Linked DNA regions of Homo sapiens: region 1 is linked to region 2. Evidence: promoter capture Hi-C in 16 types of primary human blood cells and fetal thymus (Javierre and others, 2016). All regions are on one chromosome and are shown on one strand. Each heading gives the region's core, a stretch centred on a gene start or on the middle of the fragment in contact. The rest is flanking DNA. Distances are from core to core; before and after follow the strand shown.

Region 1 (6,117 bases), core at 3,270-5,769, 1.3 Mb after region 2:
GGCTTCTAGAAGATGGGGATGAGATTCCCATTTCCTATTGATGACAAGCTTCCCTTCTCTTTCTCAGTCTTTTCTTTTCTTTTTTTTTTTTTTTAAGAGAGAGAGGATCTCCCTATGTTGCCTAGGCTGGTCCTGAACTCCTGGTCTCAAGTGATCCTCCCACCTCAACCTCCTAAGTAGCTGAGATTACAAGCATGAGCCACCACACCCAGCCCACTTCTCAGCTTTGATGGTGCCGCGGAACTTGCCGTGGGTAGAATCATATTGGAACATGTAGACCATGTAGTTGAGGTCAATGAAGGGGTCATTGAGGTGACAACATCCATTCTGCCAGAGTTAAAAGCAGCTCTGGTGCCCTGGTGACCAGGCACCCAATATGGCCAAATCCATTTACTCCTGTCTTCACTTTCACCACGGTGTCTCGGGGACATGCCTTTTTCACTGCATGAAAAGATGTGGCTGTCTGTCAAATGGGAGGAGCAGAGAGGCTCTGCCTTTTTAATCTTTAAGAAAAAAAATTCAGGCTGGGCATGGTGGCTCACGCCTGTAATCCCAGCACCTTGGGAGGCCAAGGCAGGCGGATCACAAGGTCAGGAGATCCAGACCATCCTTACTAACATGGTGAAACCCCGTCTCTACTAAAAAATACAAAAAATTAGCTGGGCGTGGTGGCGGGCACCTGTAGTCCCAGCTACTTGGGAGGCTGAGGCAGGAGAATGGCGTGAACCCGGGAGGCGGAGCTTGCAGTGAGCCAAGATCGCGCCACTGCACTCCAGCCTGGGTGATGGAGCAAGACTCTGTCTCAAATAATAATAATAATAATAATTTAGATGGGGTCTCACTGTGTCACCCAGGCTTGTCTCAAACTCCTGGGCTCCAGTGATCCACCCACCTCAACCTCCCAAAGTGCTGGGATTACAGGTGTGAGCCACCACACCCGGCCTATTATTATTATTTGAGACAGTCTTGCTCTTGTCGCCCAGGCTGGAGTGCAGTGGCACGATCTTGGCTCACTGCAACCTCTGCTTCCCGGGTTCAAGCGATTCTCCTGCCTCAGCCTCCCGAGTAGCTGGGATTACAGGTGGCTGCCACCACGCCCAGCTAATTTTTTTTGTATTTTTAGTAGAGATGGGGTTTCACCTTGTTGGTCAGGCTGGTCTCAAACACCTGACCTCAGGTGATCCGCCCACCTCAGCCTCCCAAAGTGCTGGGATTACAGGCGTGAGCCACTGCTCCTGGCCCTGTCTTTTAATTTTTAAAGGGTAGGGGGCACCATGACCCATCTTTGCCCACCTAAACCACCTATTCAGCAGCCCATGCCCCGCAGCCCACAGCTGGGGGACATCATGCAAAATCTAAGTCAGATCTGTCCCTCTGATCAGAACCCTCTGTGGCTCCCACCTTACCCAGATAAAAGCCCCCTTCCCTGCAGCCCCCAAGAGCACACGCAACCTGCCCCACCCACACCCTTCTCTGTTCCTTGCCCTTGACCTTGCAGACTCAACCTTCCGGATTCACTTCCCCCTTGCTCACTCTGCTCCAGCCACAAAAGCCAATTTTTGGTTCCTCAAATCAAACTAACTCATGACAGCATTTTGAATTTTGAAGCCTTGGGGCCCCGAAAAAGTCCATCTTTTTTTTTTTTTTTTAAGATCGAGTCTCACTGTGTTGCCCAGGCTGGAGTGCGGTGGTGTGATCTCGACTCACTGCAACCTCTGCCTCCCTGGTTCAAGCAATTCTCCGGCCTCAGCCTCCCAAGTAGCTGGGATTACAGGTGCTCGCTGCCATGCCCAGCTAATTTTTTTGTATTTTAGTAGAGAAAGGGTTTCACCTTGTTGCCTAGGCTGATCTTGAACTCCTGAACTCAGGCAATCTGTCTGCCTCAGCCTCCCAAAGTGCTGGGATTACAGGCGTGAGCCACTGCGCCCGGCCCAAAAATCCATCTTTGTGGGTTCCTTTGTAAATGTGTAGTCAATTTAGAAATTTAGAAACACGGTTTCCCTTAAGCCTTTATTTAGTTACAATCACAACTAACATGTTACTTATACACCTGGCAAAGTGAAACATCAAAAAATTAATTCAGGGCCTGGCCTCAGGCCTGTAATCCCAGCACTTTGGGATGCCAAGGCAGACGGATCACTTGAGGTCAGGAGAATCGCTTGAACCTGGGAGACGGAGGTTGGGACGAGCTGAAGATCACACCACTGCGCTCCAGCTTGGGTGACAGAGTGAGTGAGACTCCATCTCAACAAAAAGAAAAAGAAATATCACTTTAAGAGGTCATTGGATGCATATTTGGGTCCGTTTATAAGTTTAGTGGATTGAAATTAACATTTTACATTTTATAAGTGTGATGCATTTTATTCTATACTCTTTTACTACTATAATAATAATTATTATTATTAATTTTTTTTTTGAGATGGAGTCTCGCTCTGTCACCCAAGCCGGATGGAGTGCAGTGGCGCGATCTTGGCTCACTGCAAGCTCCACCTCCCAGGTTCATGCCATTCTCCTGCCTCAGCCTCCCGAGTAGCTGGGACTACAGGCGCCCACCACCACGCCCAGCTAATTTTTTTGTATTTTTAGTAGAGACGGGGTTTCACCGTGTTAGCCATGTTGCTCTCGATCTCCTGACCTCGTGATCCGCCCGCCTCGGCCTCCCAAAGTGATGGGATTACAGGCGTGAGCCACTGCGCCCGGTCAATTATTATTATTTTTTAGAGACAGTGTATCAGCTCTGTCACCCAGACTGGAGTGCAGTGGTGCAATCATGGCTCACTGCAGCCTCGACCTCCTGAGCAATGCTCCCACCTCAGCCTCCTGAGTAGCTGGGCTACAGGTGCACACAACCACGCCCAGCTAATTTTATTTTTAAGAGATGAGGTCTCTACAAAAAGTGTTGGGATGACAGGTGTGAGCCACTGTGCCAGCTTATTCTTTAATCTTTTAATTTATTATTATTATTTTTTGAGACAGAGTCTTGCTCTACCACCCAGGCTAGAGTGCAATGGTGCGATCTCAGCTCACTGCAACCTCTGCCTCCCGGGTTCAAGCGATTCTCCTGCCTCAGCCTCCTGAGTAGCTGGGACTACAGGCACGTGCCACCACACCCAGGTAATTTTTTGTATTTATAGTAGAGATGGGGTTTCACCATGTTAGCCAGGATGGTCTCGATCTCCTGACCTCTTGATCCACCCGCCTCGGCCTCCCAAAGTGCTGGGATTACAGGCATGAGCCACTGCACCTGGCCTATTCTTTAATCTTTTTAAATGTCTCCACCAAGCAAACACCTTGAGAAGTCCTTATCAGTTATTAAAAATCTACAATGCAAACATACAAATAAAAGGAGAACAGTAAGTTCTCTTAAACATTCTGATACTACTTCTAAACTTAGCCAATAAACTGAGAATGAATGTTAATTTTTTAAATAAACAGGCCAGGGGCAGTGGTTCACACCTGTAATCCCAGCACTTTGAGGGGCTGAGTTGGGAGGATTGCTTGAACTCAGGAGTTCAAGAGCAGCCTGGACAAGGTGACAAATCCCTCTCTCTACAAAAAATACAAAAATTAGCTGGGTGTGGTGGTGTGTGCCTGTAGTCTCAATCCCCAGGAGGCCAAGGGGTGTGGGAGGATCCCCTGAGCCCAGAAGGTCGAGTCTGCAGTGAGCCGTGATCGCATCACTGGTCTCCAGCCTGGGTGACTCTGTTTTAGAAAAAGAAAAAAGAAAGAAAAAAAAAGCTTTCATTAACTGAAGACAGACTGAAAGCAAGAGAAACTGAAAGCAAGATAAATGAGTGGGTGGTTTTCTCAAGCACTGGTAAGTGCTGCAGAGAAAACTACAGCAACAGGAGAGTCAATGATGGGGGCAGGGTGGTGCATTTCAGATAATTTCAGATAAATTATCTTTTTCTTTTTTTTTTTTTTTTTTTGAGACAGAGTCTCACTCTGTCACCCAGGCTAGAGTACAGTGGCACGATCTTGGCTCACTGCAACCTCCGCCTCCCAGGTTCAAGCAATTCTCCTGCCTCGACCTCCTGAGTAGCTGGGACCACAGGTTTGTGCCACCACGCCCAGCTAATTTCTGTATTTTTAGTAGAGATGGGGTTTCACCATGTTGGCCAGGCTGGTCTCGAACTCCTGGCCTCAAGTGATCCACCCGGCTTGGCTTCCCAAAGTGCTGGGATTACAGGCGTGAGCCACCACGCCCAGACTCATTTCAGATAAATTAAAGGAACTTGAACACAATGGGTGACCTCAGTATCTGACTAAGGAAGACCCTTCCAGGCAGGGAGAACAGAAAGTGCCAAGACCCTGAGGCCAGAGTGTATCTGAGACAGTCAAGCAATGCGGAGGAGGTCAGAGGAGCAAGAAACAGGGAAAGCAGGATTGGCAGGAGGAAGGAAGGGAAGGGATTGGGTAGAGACAGCAGCGGAGAACAGGACCTGGATGTATTGGCAACAGGAGGAACTCACTCGTGGGGTTGTTGACATCTGAGATTGACACTGGTGTTGGGAAAATAGGAAAGGGTGGAGGTGGAGGGAGATTCTGAGTCACAGCCTGATCTAGCTCCACAGAAAATCAGCAGAAGAGAGTTCTCCTGGGTGAATGGAGAGAGAAGAGCTTATTCAGCACCCTGGAGGAGACCAGAGAGAGATAGCCAAGAACGCACAGGTTTTATTACATGCTCTGTGCAAGATCAGGTTTATTTTTTTCATTGTGCTCTCTCTCTCTCTCTCTCTCTCTCTCTGAGACAAGAGTCTAGCTGTGTTGCCCAGGCTGAAGGTCAGTGGTGCATTCGTAGCTTATTGCAGCCTCAAACTCCCAGGCTCAAGCGATCCTCCACCTCAGCTTCCTGAGTAGATGGAACCACAGGTGTGCACCACCATGCCTGGCTAATTTTTTTTTTTTTTTTTTTTTTTTTTGTAGCAATGTGGTCTCGCCACGATGCCCAGGCTGTTCCTGAACTCCCGGGCTCAAGCGATCCTCCCACATTGGCTGGGTTTACAGGCCTGAGCCACCATGCTTGGCCAGCTTTTTCAATTTAAAAAATATAGAAAGTGTTAATACAAATTAAAAAGTTATAAAATAGTGCCAATAGTATCCCATTTTTCCGAAGACAAACATAGGCAGAGAAAAATTAATGGATACTGTCTCTCTGGGCAGGGGTATTACTGGCTATTATAATCTTTTTCTTCGTGCATTCCAGAATTTACCAACTTTTCTACAAAGATCATGTAGCACAATAAGATAATAAACATAATTTTGTGTGATCTCAAAATACAGGAAGCATAGAAGCTTCCAAAACACGCCTGTACCCACCACGTGAAGAAACAGATGTTAACATTTGGTCATAATTGCTTCAGATTTCTTTCTTTTTTTTTTTTTCTGTTTTTTTTTTGGGGGGGACAGAGTCTTGCTCTGTCGCCCAGGCTGGAATGTAGTGGCATGATATTGGCTCAGTGCAACCTCCTCCTCCTGGGTTGGAGTGCAGTGGCATGATCTCAGTTCACTGCAACCTCTGCCTCCTGGGTTCAAGAGAGCACCTCCAGCTAATTTTTGTCTTTTTAGTAGAGACAAGGTTTTGCCATGTTGCCCAGGCTGGTCTGGAACACCTGACCTCAAGTGATCCGCTCACCTCGGCCTCCCAAAGTGCCAGGATTACAGGTGTGAGACACCACACCGGCTAAATAATAAGTTTTTAAAAAAACAGGAGACTGGCCAGGCATGGTGACTCACGCCTGTAATCGCAGAACTTTGGGAGGCTGAGGTGGGCAGATCACCTGAGATCGGGCATTGGAGACCAGCCTGGCCAACATGGAGAAACCCCGTCTCTACTAAAAATACAAAATTAGCCGGGCGTGGTGGTGCGTGCCTGTAATCACAGCTACTAGGGAGGCTGAGGCAGGAGAATCGCTTGTACCCGGGAGGCGGAGGTTGCGTGAGCCAAGATTGCGCCACTGCACTCCAGCCTGGGCAACCAGAATAAAACTGTCTCAAAAAAAAAAAAAACAAAAACAGGCCGGGCGCGGTGGCTCACGCCTGTAATCCCAGCACTTTGGAAGGCCAAGGTGGGTGGATCACGAGGTCAGGAGATCGAAACCATCCTGGCTAACACGG
Region 2 (6,496 bases), core at 2,695-5,194:
ACGTGCGCGCACCCGGGTTGCGGCAAGAGCTACACCAAGAGCTCCCACCTGAAGGCGCATCTGCGCACGCACACAGGTGAGGGGGCGGGGCCCCGGACATGAGAAAGGGCGCGGCGCCCGCTGTAGTTACAGGGGAAGAAGGGTTGCAGAGGGCGGGACTTGGACTTGGCTGGCCTCTGAGAGTGAGTGCCTCCTTAAATTTTGTGCCCTAGGGGCCTCACTTTGTTCATCCTAGTCCCAGCCCAGGCTGAGTAAAGGGGTGTGGCCAGATGCAGGGGACCCGGGGACATGACTGGGCAGACAGTGGCGCTTATGGCTTCCTTGTCCCCTAGGGGAGAAGCCATACGCCTGCACGTGGGAAGGCTGCGGCTGGAGATTCGCGCGCTCGGACGAGCTGACCCGCCACTACCGGAAACACACGGGGCAGCGCCCCTTCCGCTGCCAGCTCTGCCCACGTGCTTTTTCGCGCTCTGACCACCTGGCCTTGCACATGAAGCGCCACCTTTGAGCCCTGCCCTGGCACTTGGACTCTCCTAGTGACTGGGGATGGGACAAGAAGCCTGTTTGGTGGTCTCTTCACACGGACGCGCGTGACACAATGCTGGGTGGTTTTCCCACGAATGGACCCTCTCCTGGACTCGCGTTCCCAAAGATCCACCCAAATATCAAACACGGACCCATAGACAGCCCTGGGGGAGCCTCTTACGGAAAATCCGACAAGCCTTCAGCCACAGGGAGCCACACAGAGATGTCCAAACTGTCGTGCAAACCCAGTGAGACAGACCGCCAAATAAACGGACTCAGTGGACACTCAGACCAGCTCCCAGATGGCCCTGGACAGCAGGAGAGGGTGTGGGATGAGGCTTCCCAGAGACCCTGGGTCTAGAAAGCGGCTCCTGAAGGTCCCTTATTGTGGCTGATATTAACTGTCAATGGTTATGGGTCCTATAAAAATGCCCCTCCCAGATAAAGCTTCAGCGTTGGCCTGAATTTTTGGGTTTTGGAGGCTGGAAGATGGCAGGAGGCTGTAAACCTAGAGGTCATATTAGAGGGCCTTACACACCCTCATCTCCTAAACTACAGTGACACCCCTCAACTCCAACAAGCCCCCTTGGGCACTGGAGGCCTTGCTGTCCTCTCTTTTCCCACCCAGTTCAGGCTACACTGTCCTTGTCTTCTGCCTTGAACCCTGCGGACATTGACAGCAAACATCTCCCTGGATTTAAGAGTTCACAGCCTATGACTGCCCAGGGGGTTCATCTTGCCCACTGTCCAGATAGAGCCAATTTATCGAGACAGAGGGATTGCAATAGAGAGAGTTTAATCCACATACATCCAGCTAAATGGGAGATGGGAGTTTTATTACTTGAATCAGCCTCCCTGAAAATTCAGAGGCTAGGGTTATTCAAGAACAGTTTGGTGGGCAGGAGGGCTAGGGAATGGGTGCCTTGCTGCAATCCTGGAGCTGTGGAAAACAGTTGCTGAGTCAGCTTCTGGGTGGGGACCATAGAGTCGCTAGTCTGGGTGGAGTCATCCAGTTGTCAGATATGCAAAAAGCCTAAAAAGACATCTAAAAAGGCCAGCGTTAGGTTTTGCAATAGTCATGTTATTTGCAGAAATAACTGGGGAAGTTGCAAACCTTGTGACCTCCAGAATAATGGCTGGCCATCTTTGTTTTTGTTTTTGAGATGGAGTCTTGCTCTTGCCCAGGCTGGAGTGCAGTTGTTCCATCTTGGCTCACTGCAACCTCTGCCTCCTGGGTTCAAGTGATTCTCCTGTGTCAGCCTACCAGGTAGCTAGGATTACAGGCACATGCCACCATGCCGGGCTAATTTTTGTATTTTTAGAAGAGATGGGGTTTCGAAATGCTGGCCAGGCTGGTTTCGAAATCCTGACCTCAGGTAATCTGCCAGCCTCGGCCTCTCAAAGTGCTGGGATTACAGGCGTGAGGCACCGCACCCGGCCGGAAAAATGGCTGGTCATAATTTAACTACTACACCTACAGTTTAGCAGAATTCAGGCTCCTCTCATCCTCCTAACCTAGTGCCCTTTCATTATTTCTACAAAGGCAGTTTAGTTTGGGGAAGGGCTATTATCATTTAAGCTATAAACTAAATTCCTCCCAAAATTAGCTTGGGGCCAGGCATGGTGGCTCCCTCTTTAATCCCAGCAATTTGGCAGGCTGAGGCGGGCAGATCACTTGAGCCCAGGAGTTCGACACCAGCCTGAGCCCCAAGGTGAAACCCCATCTCTACCAAAAATGGTGAAACCCAGTCTCTACCAAAAATACAAAAATTAGCTGGGCATGTGGCGCATGCCTGTAATCCCAGCTACTCAGGAAGCTGAGGCAGGAGGATTGCTTGAACCTAGGAGGCGGATGTTGCAGTGAGCTGAGATCACACCACTGGACTCCAGCCTGGGCGACAGAGTGAGACAACGTGTCAAAAAAAAAAAAAAAGTTAGCTTGACCCCACTCCAGGAATGACCAAGCAAGGGCAGTTTGGAGATTAAAGGCAAGATGGAGTTGGTTAGGTCAGAGCTCTTTCACTGACATAATTTTCTGTCATAATTTTTGCAAAGGCAGTTTCAAGCCAGTACTCAGATTCCCATAGCCCTTTGCCCTGCCATGATCCTTTGAGGCTGAGGTGGGAGAATCACTTGAACCCCGGAGTTCCAGAGCAGCCTGGGCAACATAGTGAGACCCTCATCTCTGCAATGAACAATTATCTGGGTGTGGTGGCACAGGCCTGTAGTACCAGCTACCTGGGAAGATCTCTTGAGCCCAGTAGGTTGAGGCTGCAGTGAACTGTGATGGAGTCACTGCATTCTAGCCTGGGTGAGAAACCATTATCCTGTCTCAAAACGACAAAAAACAAACATACAGTCACCTCTTTGCTAGCTCAGGGGATCCTGGAGAAAACGTGCAGAATGAAAAAGGAGAGTCTGGGTGGCGTGGATTACATGCCTGTAATCCCAGCACTTTGGGAGGCAAGACAGGTGGATCCCTTGAGCTCAGGAGTTCAGCCTGAGCCACATGGTGAAACCGTGTTTCAAAAAAAAAACTACAAAAATTAGCTGGGCATAGTGGCATGTGCCCGTGATCCCAGCTACTCGGGAGGCTGAGGTGAGAGGATCACTTGAGCTGGGGAGGCAGAGGTTGCAGTGAGCCAAGATTGCGCCACTGCACTCCGGCCTGGGCAACAGAGCGAGATATTGTCCGGGAAAAAAAAAAAAAAAAAAGGAAGGAAAAAAAAAAAGAAAGAAAAAGGGGAAGATACACTGGAACACAAATGCTTCTTAAGGGGCGCAGTGGCTCACTTCTGCAATCTTGGCACTTTCGGGGGCCGAGGCTGGTGGATCACGAGGTCAGGAGTTCGAGACCAGCCTAGTCAACATGGAAAAACCCCGTCTCTACTAAAACTACAAAAATTAGCCGGGCGTGGTGTCGGGCGCCTGTAATCCCAGCTACTCGGGAGGCTGAGGCAGGATAATCGCTTTAATCAGGAAGGCGGAGGTTGCAGTGAACCGAGATCGTGCCATTGCACTCCAGCCTGGGCGACAAGAGTGAAACTCCGTCTCAAAAAAAAAAAAAAAAAAAAAAAAAAAAAAAGAGGAAGAACAAAGGTCCCAAGAGTTGGACCCAGGTTGTAGGGCTGGAATAAAAAATAAAATACAAACTTGTGCCTGATCCAGAAACCCGGGCGGGAGTTGGGTCAGACAGAAGAGCGTGGGCTGGGATTAGCTACCACGAAAAGGAACGGTGGCCAGGCTCCAGGAGACGCTGGAGCGCCGGGCCCGTCGTGGGCGTGGTCTGGGCAGACTCAGCGTTGCCTTTTGCCTCTCCAAAACGCAGCATCGCGTCTCGGGGGAGGAGTCTGTACCCTCGTGATGTCCCCGCCCCGGTTCCCAGGCAAGTTTAGGGAAGTGAAAGGCGCCAGGTGCCAGTCCTGGCCTCTGATGTAACCCAGCGCCCCGCAGTCCCGACACAGATTCCTGGATCTCAGCCCCATAGCAGCTATGATCCCGCTGCTGCTGGCAGCGCTGCTGTGCGTCCCCGCCGGGGCCCTGACCTGCTACGGGGACTCCGGGCAGCCTGTAGACTGGTGAGTGCGCAGCGGGGGGCCTACCATCGCCCCGGGGTCCGGCTGCGGTCACTCAACCGGGATGGCTACCTCCTCGGGGAACCCTGGGGTGCCTTCTCTTCCCTCTCTCCTATTTCTGTGCATTCTCCGACCTCCAGGTTCGTGGTCTACAAGCTGCCAGCTCTTAGAGGGTCCGGGGAGGCGGCGCAGAGAGGGCTGCAGTACAAGTATCTGGACGAGAGCTCCGGAGGCTGGCGGGACGGCAGGGCACTCATCAACAGCCCGGAGGGGGCCGTGGGCCGAAGCCTGCAGCCGCTGTACCGGAGCAACACCAGCCAGGTGAAGGGGGCCCCGGGCCAACTAGGGGCGAAACTCTAGGGCTGCCCTGCCTGGGAGGAATTTCACGTTGCCTCCGTTTATCCGCCCGCAGCTCGCCTTCCTGCTCTACAATGACCAACCGCCTCAACCCAGCAAGGCTCAGGACTCTTCCATGCGTGGGCACACGAAGGGTGAGGCCTGGATTGGGGGCTGGGGAGAGACTCGGGTCCCATTTTTCCAAGGTAACCCCTGACGTGCATGGGGTGGTCGGGGAGATCTGCACTGTCAGACCCTGGGCATCTATTCCCCCCAACTTTTTTTTTTCTTTGTTTTTGAGACGGTGGGAGTTCGCTCTGTCACCCAAGCTGGAGTGCAGTGGCACAATCTTGGCTCACTGCAATCTCTGCCTCTGGGGTTGAAGCAATTCTCCTGTCTCAGCCTCCCAAGTAGCTGGTATTAAAGGCGCACCATCACACCAGGCTAATTTTCATATTTTTAGTACAGACGAGGTTTCACCATGTTGGCCAGGCTGGTCTCGAACTCCTGGTTTCTACCTCAAGTGATCTACCCGCCTTGGCCTCCCAAAGTGCTGGGATTACAGGAATGAGCCACCCTGCCCAGCCGAGTTCCTATGCATTTTTCCAAGCTAACCCCTGACCTCCATAGTGGGGTGGGAGATCTCCCCTGTCAGACCTTGGGCATCTATTTCCCCTATTTTATTTTCTTTTAGACAAGGTCTCACCCAGTCACCTAGGCTGGAGTGCAGTATCACAGCTCACTGCAGCCTTGACCTCCCAGGGCTCAGGTGATCCTCCTACCTCAGCCTCCCAAGTACTGGGCCTGCCGGTACCCCCCACCACGCCTGGCTTTTTTTTTTTTTTTTTTTTTTTGCGGCACTCTCTCTCCATCACCCAGGCTGGAGTTCGGTGGTGCAATCTCAGCTCACTGCAATCTCCATCTCCCCAGTTCAAGCGATTCTTCTGCCTCAGCCTCTGGAGTAGCTGGGATTACAGGTGTGCGCCACCATGCCCAGCTAAATGTTGTATGTTTTAGTAGAGATGGGGTTTTACCAGGTTGGACAGGCTGATATTGAACTCCTGACCTCAGGTGATCCACCTGCCTTGGCCTCCCAAAGTGCTGGGATTACAGGCGTGAGCCACCACACCTGGCCTACTTTTTGTATTTTTGTAGAGTGGGCTTTTGCCATGTTGCCTAGGCTGGTCTCTAAGTCCTGGTTCAAGCAATCCACCCACCTTGGCCTCTTAATGTGCTGCGATTACCGGCATGAGCCGCCACACCTGGCCTGTTTCCCTACCTTACATTACTCTTGGCGTTATTCTGGACTATAAGAATTTATGCCTGCAAAAACTGAGCTCAGCTGTGGTTCTAACACTGCTGGCACCCTCTCTAAGCCCCGCTGCAAACTGAGGGTGTTCCTGATTGCAGATGAGCTTGCTGGGAGGCCTGGAGCAATACCCTCTAATTGCCTTTTTTTTTTTTTTTTTTTTGAGAAGGAGTTTTGCTCTTGCTACCCAGGCTGGAGTGCAATGGTGCAATCTCGGCTCACTGCAACCTCCGCCTCCTGGGTTCAAGTGATTCTCCTGCATCAGCCTCCCGAGTAGCTGGGATTACAGGCATGCACCACCATGCCCGGCTAATGTTGTATTTTTAGTAGTGATGAGGTTTCTCCATGTTGGCCAGGCTGGTCTTGAACTCCCGACCTCAGGTGATCCGCCCTCCTCGGCTTCCCAAAGTGCTGGGATTACACTGCGTGGGGCCTGCCTTCTTTTTTTAAATTTTTATTTATTTATTTATTTATTTATTTATTTACTTACTTACTTACTTATGTTTGAGATGAAATTTTGCTCTGTGGCCCAGGCTGGAGTGCAGTGGTGGATCTCAGCTCACTGCAACCTCCACCTCCTGGGTTCAAGCGATTCTCCTGCCTCAGCCTCCTGAGTAGCTGGGATTACAGGCGTCCACCACCACGCTCAGCTAATTTTTGTATTTTTAGTAGAGATGGGGTTTCGCCATGTTGGCCAGGCTGATTTCTAACTCCTGACCTCAGGTGATCTGTGTGTCTCGGTCTCCCAAAG

What was found. Contacts are between HindIII fragments. The CHiCAGO score rates a contact against its expected background, and 5 or more counts as called.
Region 1: a fragment that was not itself captured here is called in contact with the fragment with the promoter of DNASE2 in region 2 in 1 of 17 cell types (M0 macrophages); the score reaches 5.5 in M0 macrophages.

The regions. Positions count from the first base shown.
Region 1 is chr19:11,579,544-11,585,660 of GRCh38, reverse strand. LOC124904638 (a long non-coding RNA gene) reads right to left here. Exons shown (of 2, transcript XR_007067140.1): 2 at 1,997-2,244. It also overlaps the pseudogene GAPDHP76. Among named protein-coding and RNA genes, the nearest start is that of ACP5, 5.0 kb to the right of the region's middle. RefSeq lists enhancers at 1,567-1,626, 1,637-1,776, 3,678-3,877 and a silencer at 3,377-3,542. The HindIII fragment of the contact is 1,557 bases long and covers 3,741-5,297 here.
Region 2 is chr19:12,878,897-12,885,392 of GRCh38, reverse strand. It overlaps DNASE2 (deoxyribonuclease 2, lysosomal), which reads left to right and starts at 3,944. Exons shown (of 6, transcript NM_001375.3): 1 at 3,944-4,103; 2 at 4,241-4,421; 3 at 4,513-4,591. The coding sequence starts at 4,018. KLF1 (KLF transcription factor 1) reads left to right here. Exons shown (of 3, transcript NM_006563.5): 2 at 1-76; 3 at 333-971. The coding sequence ends at 508. RefSeq lists enhancers at 1-9, 1-458, 1,331-1,592, 4,017-4,126, 3,786-4,413 and cis regulatory regions at 1-382, 1,262-1,782, 2,322-2,822, 3,562-4,122. The HindIII fragment of the contact is 8,211 bases long and covers 975-6,496 here.